3 separate regions of the Homo sapiens genome follow, and all the other regions are linked to region 1. The links are contacts of gene promoters, found by promoter capture Hi-C in blood cells and fetal thymus (Javierre and others, 2016). All regions are on one chromosome and are shown on one strand. Each heading gives the region's core, a stretch centred on a gene start or on the middle of the fragment in contact. The rest is flanking DNA. Distances are from core to core; before and after follow the strand shown. Region 1 holds the start of ZNF140 (zinc finger protein 140). Region 2 overlaps ZNF268 (zinc finger protein 268). Region 3 overlaps ZNF605 (zinc finger protein 605).

Region 1 (4,369 bases), core at 288-2,787:
AGAAGCCGGCTAAAACCCACCAAAACCAAGATGGCAATGAGAGTGACTTCTGGCTGTCCTCATTGCTACGTCTTCCACTGTCAGAGGCGGTTGAACCAGGGCAACTCTATCTTGAGTAGGGGCTGGTTAAAATAAGGCTGAGACCTGCTGGGCAGCATTCCCTGGAGGTTAAGGCATTCGTAGTCACAGGATGAGACATGAGGCTGGCACAAGATACAGGTCATAAAGACCTTGCTGATAAAACAGGTTGCAGTAAAGAAGCCGACTAAAACCGAGATAGCGATGAGAACGACCTGATTGTCCTCACTGCCCACCAGTGGCTATGGCAACGTCAGGAAGTTACCCTATATGGTCTAAAAAGAGGATGCATGAATAATCCACCCCTTGTTTAGCATATCATCAAGAAATAACCACAAAAATGCGCAACCAGCAGCCCTCGGGGCTGCCCTGCCTATGGATTAGCCATTCTTTATTCCTTTACTTTCCTAATAAACTTGCTTTCACCTTATGGATTCGCCTCAAATTCTTTCTTGTGCAAGATCCAAGAACCCTCTCTTAGAGTCTGAGATCCGGACCCCTTTCCAGTAGCAAAAGGTCTTAGACTGAAGTACTGACTCCACAGTCGTTGTTAAGAATCCTAGTTGTTTAATAGAGGCGGTCTTGGGCTCTTGCTGGGCCGCGGTGTGTTCTGGGAAGTGTAGTCACCTGAGTCTCCAGTTCCTTGTCTCTGGGCCGTGTGTGCACGCCAGCGAAGCACTGTGGGAGTCGTAGTAGGGGAGGAAAACCCTATACCCTCTGGCGTGCGGCGCAGGAGTTTGGGGGAATGTAGTCGCCAGAGCTCTGCGTTGTCTTCCGGCTTTGGGCGTGGCCACGATGCACTCTGGGAGTCGTAGTAGGGGAAGAACGTCCTCCGCTCTTTTGCGCACGGTCGCTAGAGGTTCTGGGAAGTGTAGTTGCCTGAAGCTCGTGTTCTTTGTCTTTCGATGATGTGCGCTTGGCCTCAAAGCACCCTGGGAGTTGCAGTGGGGCGGGGAAAGCCATATGCTCTCTCGCGCGGGGTCGCGGTTGTTTCTGGGAAGTGTGGTGGCCTGAGTTCCACGTTCTTCGTTTCTCCGCTAGTTGTGCGCTTGGCCGCGAGACACTCTGGCAGTTATAGGAACACAAAGGTCTGTGTACTCTTCCGCGGGGGGCCGCGGTTATTTCTGGGAAATGTAGTTGCCTAGGACCCGGGTTCTTTGTTTCTCGGCTCTGGGCGTGGGAGGATAGCCCCTATGCTCTGGCGCACCGGGCCGCGATGGCTCTGGGAATTGTAGTTGTCGCAGGCCCTCGTTCTTTGTCTCCTGGCGTTCTGGGCACGGCAGCGAGGCGCTCTGGGAGTTCCAGTAGGAACGAAAAGCCCTTGCGCGCAGGGCCGCATTGGTTTCTGGGAATTGTAGTTTCTTGAGGCCGGCGGCCTGGTTGGGGTGACGTCGGCGAGGCTTCTGAAGACGCAATTCCTGCGACGCCCGCGGAGGGGCCCTGGGGGGCGGCGCCGAGCGTCTGGCCTGTGTTGGCTGTAGGCAACGAAAGGAGCCCTCCCGGTCTGCGCCGGATGGCCCCGGGCGGTGACTCGGTCCGGAGCCCTGGAACGCTACGCCCACCTGGCGGAAAGCACCACGGAAACGCATCCTTCTGTGGCCACTGTTAGGTGAGGGGGTTCTGGGGAGGCGCGCCGTGGCAGGAAGAGAAAGCCGGCGCCAGTGGTCCAAGCGCGATCTCTCAGGGCGCCCTGCTCTCTACGTGGGAGGCGCGGAGCGGGGGCCACGGGAATCCCCAGTGCGGGAATCTAGTGACTTGGGCGCGGCCTAGCTGGCCTGTTCGCTCAGGGCTCCTTTCTCTCTCTGCCAGGTCTGCCATTTTACACTTTTCTGATCTCCTCCTTCCCTTCTGTGAGCTATGTCTCAGGTAAGCTAATGATTGATAAATATATATATATATATATATATAAATTTTTATTTTTTTTTTAAGAGAGAGACAGGGTCTCCTCCTGTCGCCCAGGCAGTGGAGCGATCATAGCATCCTGTAACCTCAAACTCTTGGCCTCAAGTGAGCCAACCCACTTGGCCTGTTTCCGCTTTTCTTTGTGAAGTGCAGCCGTGTTTTTCAGGACTTGGGACGTGGCTTTCTTTCTCCTACAACCACCTGCCTGGCAGAACCCCAGGACCCTGTCCCTTGTTCCTCCTTTTCAGGTGCTTATACTTAAGTATACATGAAGAGAGTGACAGGAAGCTATCCAGATGTGGGCGGGGTTTCTGACCTGGCTGGCATGTTTTAGGGTGAGAGGGTAGGGTGCCAGCTGTTACATCGCCTCCTCTTTCCCACAGTGTTAGAATGAGGAGTGCTTTACGTTACTCCAGCGCCCCTTTATTCATTTATTCAATATGTTTTTACTGAACCTCTACTTTCAGTGGTTCCCACAGTGTGATCCTTGGACCAGCAGTATCAGCATCATCTGAGAACGTATTAGAAATGAATATTCTTGAGTCCTACCCCAGACCTTCTGAATCAGAAACTGAGAATTTGGCCCAGCAGTCTAACAGTCCTTCCAAGTGATTCTAATGTGCAACTCATTCTAAGTCTTGAGGATGCAGAAGTGACCAAAACAAAATCTCCGAATCCTCAGAGCTCATTTTTCAGACATGACATAAGGAACACATTTTTATTTTGATTTGGCCTAAGGGCTTGGCTGGTAATTGTGCTTCACAGCAGTGGGGATAACAGGGTCAACTATTCAAAATGAGTCCCTCATTTCAGTTCCACTTCTTTATCCTACTTTTTGTCATACTTCTCTCCAAATTCAGAGGTTCTCTGAGTTTTGCTGGGGAATCCAATTTCCACCTCTGCTGCAGATCTTGCTGTGTAGGAAACAGCTGCTTTATTAGTCAACAGTCTTTAATCACTTTTTTATTAAACTTCAAAACTGTAAATTATAACTGCCATCCATCTGGGACTGCTACTAGTTTGAGACATTTTAAATTCCCATTCATGCCTTATAGATCAATGTGGATCACTCAAGTGGTGCAAAACCAGGCTGCAAAGCAAGGGCTTATATATTATTCCCCCTAACTCTGAGGGAAAGTGCTTTAGGTTCTGTCCTGGGAGGTATTACATTCTCTTCTTGCGGAATCAAGATTCTTTATTGCTTATCCTCCTTGTTCTGTGACATTGCTAAAATTACCACTAAGTTTCACAGGTATTTCTTTAGGATTAGGGATAACTGTGACAAACTTGAGACTGTATGCCCCATTTGAAGGGTGGTGCTGTTATCTGCTGTAGCGAATTATTACCCTGAAGAAATTCTGGCTGAATTATATTAAAATAGGCTGGTATTAAGGAAAATATACATTGTTTATTAACATAAAGGAATACTGTAAAATCTTAAGAATTTTTACAACCAATGCCAAAAATCCATATTGTTCATGTGTATAATCCTTTATTTTGAATAAAATTGTAAATTATCTCAGGACAGATAATTTATGTTTTTCTCCTTTTCTCCAGTTATACAACAAAACACAAGAGCTAGGCTCTTCATTATATAATTACTCAGAATTCTGAAAACTCTCACTGTTACTACTTAGACACATTGCCTAACCTCCACAGTGAGACTCATTTTATTCCTTGATGAGGGAGTTTGGGGGCATGCGTGCTGGTCATGCAAATATCTGTCCGTCATTTCAGGGGTCAGTGACATTCAGAGATGTGGCCATAGACTTCTCCCAGGAGGAGTGGAAATGGCTTCAGCCTGCTCAAAGAGATTTGTACAGATGTGTAATGTTGGAGAACTATGGCCATCTGGTCTCACTGGGTAAGTATTCTTCTTCATCTCCCTCAAGGCAAAATTTGACCGTTAGGGTGGCTGTTATAATTATCTGGCTGAATATTCCCAAGAGAGGTATGGGGTTTCTTAAAATTAGTTTTAAGATGGGGACGTAACTGCACCTTATTTTTAGACATTTTAAAAACTTACATCTGACATTTCCTTTGTGGCCCCTCTTAGGATTCAATGACTGATCTTGAATTTATTTCATTTTCTGCAAGCAGGTCTTTCCATTTCTAAGCCAGATGTGGTTTCCTTATTGGAGCAAGGGAAAGAACCCTGGCTGGGGAAAAGGGAAGTGAAAAGAGATCTGTTTTCAGGTGAGTGAGTTGGAAGCTGATGGGGAAATTTTTTAAAACCACTCAATTAGTCAATGAAAAAGGAATACTTTTTAATATGTTGATTGGAAAATTTTCCCTTAAAGATACTAGAGATACGCTAGGCACGGTGGCTCATGCCGGTAATCCCAGCACTTTGGGAGGCCGAGGTGGGTGGATCACGACGTCAGGAGAT
Region 2 (3,968 bases), core at 680-3,179, 130 kb after region 1:
GTGAAAAGGCTGTATGATCCTATTTCTATGATGTTATGGAAAAGCAGAAACTACAGGGGTAGCAAACATATCTGTGATTGATGACGGTTTGTAGAGGGCAGGGAGTGAGTTAAATAGGAGGATATAATGATAGAAACAGGCACAAATGGGCCTTTGGAGAGTGTACTCCCTCTGCTTGGTGAAATTATGCTGGGTGTGTGTGGAAGAGCCTGGGATGTATAATGCCAGCATGAACAAAAAGGCCACTTATCACTCCAGGAGAGCAGGGTGTTCTTTCATCACACATGAAATTATTTCAGGATCAGTTCCAAGGGAGACTTTCATGTGTGATTTTATATATATATATATATATATATATATATATATATATATATATATATATATATGTATATATACACACACACATACACACATATATACACATATATATACACATATACACATATATATACACATATATATAATAAGAACATTTACCATTTTAACTATTTTTAAGTGTACACTTCAGTGGCATGAAGTACATTATTTCCATTATTGTGCAACTATCATTTTACATTCCACCAGCAGTGCACAAGGCTTCCAATTTCTCCACATACTTGCCAATATTAATTAGTTTGTTTCTCTCTCATTTCATAGGCATGATCATAACTCACTGCAGCCCCAACCTCCTGGGCTCAAGGGATCCTTCCACCTCAGCCTCCTGGGTAGCTGGAACTACAGGTGCCACTACACCCAAATAGTTTTTTGGTTTTTTTGAAATGGAGTTTCACTCTGTCACCCAGGCTGGAGTGCAGTGGCACCATTTCAGCTCACTGCAACCTCCGCCTCCTAGGTTTAAGTGATTCTCCTTCCTCGGCCTCCTGAGTAGCTGGGATTACAGGCATGTGCCACCATGTATGGCTATTTTTTGTATTTTTAGTAGAGACAGGGTTTCACCATGTTGGCCAGGCCAGGCTAGTCTCAAACTCCTGTCCTCAAGTGATCCACTTACCTTGGCCTCCCAAAGTGCTGGGATTACAGGCTTGAACCACTGCACTTGGCCTCCATATTTTTTATAATAGCCACTCTAACATGTATGAAATGGTATCTCATTGTGGTTTTGATTTTCCTTTACCTAATGGCTAGTGATGTTGAAAATCTTTTCATGTACTTCTTGGCACTGGATTTGGCAATGATTTATTGGATATGACACCAGAAGCATGGGAAACAAAAGAAAAAATAGGTAAATTGGACTTCACCAAAATTGAAAACTTTCGGCATCAGTGGACACTATCAAGAAAGTGAAAAGGAGCTGGGTGTGGTGGCTCACGCCTGTAATTCCAGCACTTTGGGAGGCCAAGGTGGGAGGATCACTTGAGGTCAGGAGTGCGAGACCAGCCTGGTTAACTTGGTGAAACCACGTCTCTACTAAAAATAAAAAAAAAGAGAAAAAAAAAAGCCGGGTGTGGTGGCATGTGCCTGTAATCCCAGCAACTCAGGAAGCTGAGGCAGGAGGATCGCTTGAAGCTGTGAGGTGGAGGTTGCAGTGAGCCGAGATCATGCTACTGCACTCCAGCCCAGGTGACAGAGCAAGAAAGCAAAATTCCATCTCAAAAAAAAAAAAAAGGCCGGGTGTGGTGGCTCACGCCTGTAATCCTAGCACTTTGGGAGGCTGAGGCAGGTGGATCACGAGGTCAGGAGATCGAAACCATCCTGGCTAATGTGGTGAAACCCTGTCTCTACAAAAAAATACAAAAAATTAGCCAGGCTGGTAGTGGAAGCCTGTAGTCCCAGCTACTTGGGAGGCTGAGGAAGGAGAATGGCGTGAACCTGGAACCAGTGAGCCCAGATCTCACCACTGCACTCCAGCCTGGGCGACAGAGCGAGACTCCGTCTCAAAAAAAAAAAAGGTGAATATAGGAGAAAAGACACTGTAAAATAATATACCTGATAAGGGTCTAGTATCCAGAACATATAAAGAACTCTTACAACCCAACAACAAAAAGACAACCCAATATCAAAATGGGCAGAGGACTTGAAGAGACTTTTCTGTAAAGAAGATATGCAAATAGCATATGAAACGATACTCAACATCACTAGCCATCATGGAAATATAAATCAAAAATACAATGAGATAACACTCCATACCCATCAGAATGTCTTATTATTTTAAAAACAAACCAGAAACAAGTATTGACAAAGAAGTGGAGAAATGTGAACACCGCTGTAAAATGGTAAAGCTGCTATGACTGACCCTTGCTACAACGTGGAGGAACCTCAGAAACATTGTGCTGAGAACCCAGCACAAGGCCACACACCTGTAATCCCAGCTACTCGGGAGGCTGAGGTGGGAGGGTCGCTTGAGCCTGGGAGTTCAAGTCCAGTCTGGGCAGCATAGCAAGACTCCATGTCTACAAAGATAAAAATAAAAGCAATGTGCAGAAAGAGGCTGGCCACAAAAAGGTCACATACTGTATGATACCACTTATATGAAATACCCAGAATGGGTAAATCCAAAGAGAGCATATTGGTGGTTGTCAAGGGTCGGAGGGAGGATGAAATGTGTGACAGCTGCTTAATGGATGGAGGATTTCCTTTGGGGTGATGAAACTATTTTGGAACTAAGAGGTGGTGGCTGCACAATGTTGTGCATGGACTAAATGTCACAGAAATGTACATTTTTAAAAGTTAATTTTATATTGTGTAAATTTTACCTCAATAAAAAAATCTAGTCCACAGCATTCCCTCACCAGGGTCAGCCCTCTTAGCCTCACATTTAAGTCCCTCCATAGCCCAGTGCTGCCTGGGCCTGGCCAACCACATTCCAGACATGTGCTCCAGCCACACCATCTGCCAGCTCCTAAACCCATGGCTGTTTCATCATTCCAGGTCCAGGTCACCTTCTGATGCCTTCACAGACACTAAGTGATCAGCAGTGCCTCCTTAGGGCACACAGGGTCTTTTGAAACTTGCATTGCTGGAATTCATAGCTCGGCACGTGGTATCCAAGGGTTGTCCCATTTCAATAAGGAGAAATCAGTGTTTTCTGACCATCACCATGCAGCTATCTTGCTCAGGTGACTCACAGCTATCTGCTAGGTATGGCTAGTTCCTTGTGCAGAGGGGAGGGCCAGGCTCAGGTGATTGAATGATTCACCTGCAATCACACAGCCTCCAAGTGAGGTTCACACTCAGGTTCCAGCCCAGAACCTCGTTTCCAGGTGCCACTCAAAGTTTGTGAGTCACATGAACCTGTGTCCAGGCCACACAGCAGAGGTAACCCAGCTGTGGGGGCACTTGTCTGGTCATGAGATGGCCCAAGTCCCACGTGAAGCCTCATGAGCCACACAGACCCTATCATAAATACACCAGCCTGGGGCTCCCCAGAGGCCAGCTCCAGGAAGTGGAATCATGCTAGTATTGTAATATTTAGTTAGAACTGAGGCCACCTGCAACTCGCTGCCATCTACACCGCTTCCACTCTCTGGTTGCTAACGATCAATGCTAGGGCCTGCCTCAACCCTGATGATTCAGCTCCACTGAAGCTCCCCAGAAACCTCCGGGGCTCTGCAGGCAAGCAGAGTGGGAGGGATGTTATCTGAGTCAGAAGGGGCTTTTGCCTTTGGAGGCCTGGGACTGTACGACTTTCTGCCCAGGTCACAGGAGGTATGGGAGCCCCCATGAGAGGTCCCTTGCTGTGGTTCACCGTCCAGAGAAGGACCAGCCTCTGGTTTTTCCTGCCTTCAAAACACCAGCACCTCAACCCCAGAACAGTCTGGATCCAGCCCTTACTGGGCAAGGGATCCCAATGCCAGCCCCAAACCCAGCAGTTAGGCCCTCCTGTGAACTGCCTGGAGCACCAGGTACAAGGATGGGGCACCCTGGGAGGGGCCATGATTACTTGGCACCAGCAGGGATATGGTGATCACCAGCAGAGACAGAGACACTGCTGGGGTTGAATTATATCCCCCAAATTCATATGTTCAAGT
Region 3 (4,229 bases), core at 1,432-3,931, 160 kb before region 1:
GGAATCTTGAGACATTTCAGCCTATGCACTATGCGGCACTTGTACTGATAACTGATTATCACAATTTTATTAAATGCTCATCATTTAACAGATGGCACAGAAAATAAATGGCACACTCAGAATATTAACTCAAGAACAATTAATAAAGGCACTATTTACAAATATGTGTTCACAATTAAAGACACCCAACCAGTGGGTTGGGGAAGCACCCAGTAGTAGTTAAGTCTGAAGATCATGGAGAGGGAATGGTGTCAACTGAAACCGAGAGATCTACAGCCATAGATGGGGCTTCCCAAAGGAAGCTGTATCCTTACGGGAACACAGAAGCTACCATGGTCCAGGCAGGAGGAAGGGAACGGTAATAAATAACTTTTTCTCCTCCCACCTCTGGTATCTCCCACTGTTCAAACCTATGAAGAAACCCCAGTCTCTAGAAGACAGCCTCAGGGGGGAGCAGAGCAGAAAATGGGGGAAAAGGGATCAAAGAAATAGGGAATACTCAGCACACATGCAGATCCACAATACATACAATTTCTGTCATGTGCCTGCTACAAATTCAAGCTACCCCGAGCCCTGAAGGAATAGGCTTCTAACTCAGATGATGCAGTCTACTCAACTATATTTAAAAATTCACACTTAAGTGTTATCGTCATCACACTTTACTTCTAAATAAACTCCAAATACGTTATCATTACTTTGGCTTTAAGCAGCCAATTCCCTTTTAAAAAGATTTTAAAAAGAGAGAAATATCTTTTATATTTACCCACATATTCACCATTTTCAGAACTTCATTCCTTTGTACAGACCCAAACTTAAGTTTTGTATTATTTTCCTGCTGCCCTCAAACATCCTTTAATGTTTCCCAAAGACAGGTCTACAGGTAATAAAATTACCTTTGATTTAGTTTCTCAGAAACAGTCTTTATTTTGCCTTCATTTTTGAAAACGTTTTTGACAGTAACAGAATTCTAGGTTGCAGGGTTTGTTGTTTATTTCATTAAGGAATTTAGAGATAATACTCCATTGTCTTATAGCTTGCATAGTTCTCACCAGAAATATGCTGCCATTCTTTGTTCATGTGTATGTATTATCTTTTTTTCTCAAGGTGTTTTAAAAGTATTCTGTTTATCAGTGCTTTTCATGAATGTGACTCTGAGGTGCACTGCTGTGATGTAAATTATGTTTATTCTACTTCAGGTCATTTGAGCTTCTTGAATATGTGGGGGTATTGTTTTCACCAGATTTGGAAAATCTTTAGCCATTATTTATTCAAATACTTCTTCATGCCTCTTCATTTTCTCCTCTCCTTCTGGGACTCCAGTTAAACATATATTACACTACTGTAATGGTTTTCCTATTCTCTTCCTCTTCTCTAAGTCTTTTTTTCTCTCTGTATATCACTTTGGTAGTTTTTATTCTTACTCTTCAAGTTCATTGATTTTTTCTTCTTTTTCTGTATCTAATCTCTCCACTCGGGATTTTAACAAAATCAGAAGTTGATTTCATCCCTAGAAGTTCCATTTTGGCCAGTAAAAATATCTCTTATACCTCAGGTTTCATCAATCTTATGTTTTCCTCTACTTTATATTTACAATAGCTCTTTTAATATCCTTGTCTACTAATTCCATCACCTCTGTCTTTTCTGGGTTTCTACTGATTTTTCTCCTGGTTATAAGTCATATTTTATTGCTTCTTTGCATAACACATTAGTTTTTTTGGATGCCGGACACTGTAGGTCCAGAGTAGCTTTTAATCTAGAGTTAATTAGCTGCACTACTAAAACAAAACCTTTCTGAGAATTCTACCTGATGCTCCATGTGTTTCCACTCTGTTTCCACTCTGGCTGCTGAGAACATAAACTATTCCCAGCCCTGCATGAGTTCCAGGAATTGTTCAGCCTGCTGCTTTCCAGTGCTTCTTTTCCTGGCCTCAGTGCAAGTCAGTACTAAGTCAAAGGACTCAGGGGACTCCCAGCAGACTTCTTGAGCCCTGTATCTAGAAGGATCCCATCTCTCCAGTACTTTCCCCTGGAAATTCTAGCTGCTGTGGCCTCCCCAACTGCCAGTCCTGTCTCTTCAATTCAGCGAGATTTATTGTTTCCCTTCCCTGAACTGCAACCTAGGAACTGCCATGCGGGGGCAGGCTGAGAAACCATGGTGCTCACCTCACTCTGTCTGCAGTCTCCTGAGGATCACAAACCTGTGCTTGTCCTATGTCTAAAAACCATTACCTATTATACGTATTGTATAGCTTCCAGTTGTTTAAGGCAGGAGAGGAAATCTGACCCTTGTTATTCCATCACAGCAGTAAGGAGAACTCTTCACATCTAAGTAAACACACCTCACACTTACAATTCACTGCTTTTTGTAATAATTGATGTATAAAGAACACCACTTCCTTACAGAACTATTTCAATAGCATCATGCTTGTCAAATTCTTTACATTATTGAGACTACTCTTCAGTATGAACCTCTGTAGGTATTATTCTCAAGTGTACAGTGAGTTGTCCTTTCTTGAAATCTTCCACTTTGTTATAAAAAACAATAGAATTTTCTTCCTGTTTAGGTATTCTAAACATTTAATAAACTGACTTTTGACTAAAAGCTTCTCTACTATCACAACACTAATAAGGTTTTCACCTCAATGAGTCATCCAATATGTAACGAGTAGTGTCTTCTGGGAGATGACTTTTTTTACACTGTTTGCTTTTTAAAAACTTCTCTTTCTAAATTCTGCTTAGTGACTCTTGACTCCTCAATTCAAGCTTTTTCAACAGTCACTGCCTCAATAGGGTTTCTCTCCCACATGCATCCTCAAAAGTGTCAGAAAGTATGACACTTGATAGCAACCTTTCTGCATTCGCCAAAGTCATGATTTTTATATTATATGATTTCTCTGATGTATCATAAGCTGCGACTTCCTGTTGAAGGTGGTCCCACACTCATTGCATCCATAGTATTTATCTCCTGTATGAATCCTCTGATGCCTCATAAGGTGTGACTTTCTTGTGAAAGATTTCCCACATTCACCACATTTATATGGTCTCTCTCCTGTATGAATTCTCTGATGTATAATCAGCTGTGCCTTCTCAAAGAAAGCTTTTGCACAATCGCTGCATCCATAGGTTTTCTCTCCTGTGTGATTTCTTTGATGCTTAATGAGCTGCACTTTCTGAACAAATGCTTTCCCACATTCACTGCATTCATAGGGTTTCTCCCCTGTATGAATTCTCTGATGCCTAAGAAGCTGTGGCTTCCAGGCAAAAGCTTTCCTACATTCACTACATTCAAAGGGCTTTTCTCCAGTATGGGTTCTCTGATGATGAATGAGACTTGACTTCTCACTGAAGGTTTTCCTGCATTCACTGCATTCATAGGGTTTCTCACCTGTATGTGTTCTCTGATGTGATATCAGGCTTGACTTCTGGGTGAAGGCCTTCCCACACTCACTGCATTCATAAGGCTTCTCCCCAGTGTGTGTTCTGTGATGCGTTAGGAGCTGGGACTTCCCAAAGAAGGTTTTCCCACATTGAATGCATCCATATGGTTTCTCTCCTAAGTGAATTTTTTGATGTCTTATTAACTCTGACTTCTTAAAGAAGGCCTCCTCACAATCACTGCATCGATAGTTCTTCTCTCCTGTGTGAGTTATCTGATGTTTAATCAGCTGTGGTTTTCTGATGAAGGCTTCACCACATTCGTTGCATTCGTAGGGCTTCTCTCCTGTATGAATCCTCTGATGCCTAATGAGAAGTGAGTTCCTGCTGAAGGCTTTTTGACACTCACCACATCCGTAAGGTTTCTTCCCTGTGTGGGTCCTCTGATGAGTAATCAGCTGCGACTTCCAAAAGAAGGCTTTTCCACAGTGACTACATGGATAGGGTTTCTCTCCTGTGTGCGCTCTCTGATGTGTGATGAGTTTTAATTTCTGGGAGAATGCTTTCCCACACTCACTGCAACTGTAGGGTTTCTCTATTGTGTGCGTTATCTGATGTCTTTTAAGCTGCGACTTCCTACTGAAGGCTTTTCCACATTCACTGCATCCATACGGCTTCTCTCCAGTATGAATTCTCTGATGTAAAATGAGGAGTGACTTCCTACTAAAAGCTTTCTGACATTCGCTGCACCCATGCGGTTTTTCTCCTGAGTGAGTTCTTTGATGAACCGTGAGCAGTGACTTCTGTGAAAAGGCTTTTCCACACTCACTGCATTGATAGGGCTTCTCTCCTGT

The links. The method cuts DNA at HindIII sites, captures the fragments that hold promoters and counts their contacts. A CHiCAGO score of 5 or more calls a contact.
Region 2: a contact is called between a fragment that was not itself captured here and the fragment with the promoter of ZNF140 in region 1, in 2 of 17 cell types (naive CD8 T cells and M0 macrophages). The highest score is 6.7, in naive CD8 T cells.
Region 3: a fragment that was not itself captured here is called in contact with the fragment with the promoter of ZNF140 in region 1 in 14 of 17 cell types (erythroblasts, total B cells, fetal thymus and 11 more); the score reaches 13.6 in erythroblasts.

Annotation. Positions count from the first base shown.
Region 1 is chr12:133,079,386-133,083,754 of GRCh38, forward strand. ZNF140 (zinc finger protein 140) reads left to right here and starts at 1,538. Exons shown (of 5, transcript NM_003440.4): 1 at 1,538-1,687; 2 at 1,888-1,944; 3 at 3,718-3,844; 4 at 4,081-4,176. The coding sequence starts at 1,936. RefSeq lists enhancers at 567-1,256, 1,327-1,526. The HindIII fragment of the contact is 18,343 bases long and covers 1-4,369 here.
Region 2 is chr12:133,212,113-133,216,080 of GRCh38, forward strand. ZNF268 (zinc finger protein 268) reads left to right here. Exons shown (of 6, transcript NM_003415.3): 6 at 1-2,720. Among named protein-coding and RNA genes, the nearest start is that of ANHX, 22 kb to the right of the region's middle. The HindIII fragment of the contact is 4,424 bases long and covers 1-3,968 here.
Region 3 is chr12:132,922,497-132,926,725 of GRCh38, forward strand. ZNF605 (zinc finger protein 605) reads right to left here. Exons shown (of 5, transcript NM_183238.4): 5 at 1-4,229. The coding sequence ends at 2,877. Among named protein-coding and RNA genes, the nearest start is that of ZNF605, 32 kb to the right of the region's middle. The HindIII fragment of the contact is 160 bases long and covers 2,602-2,761 here.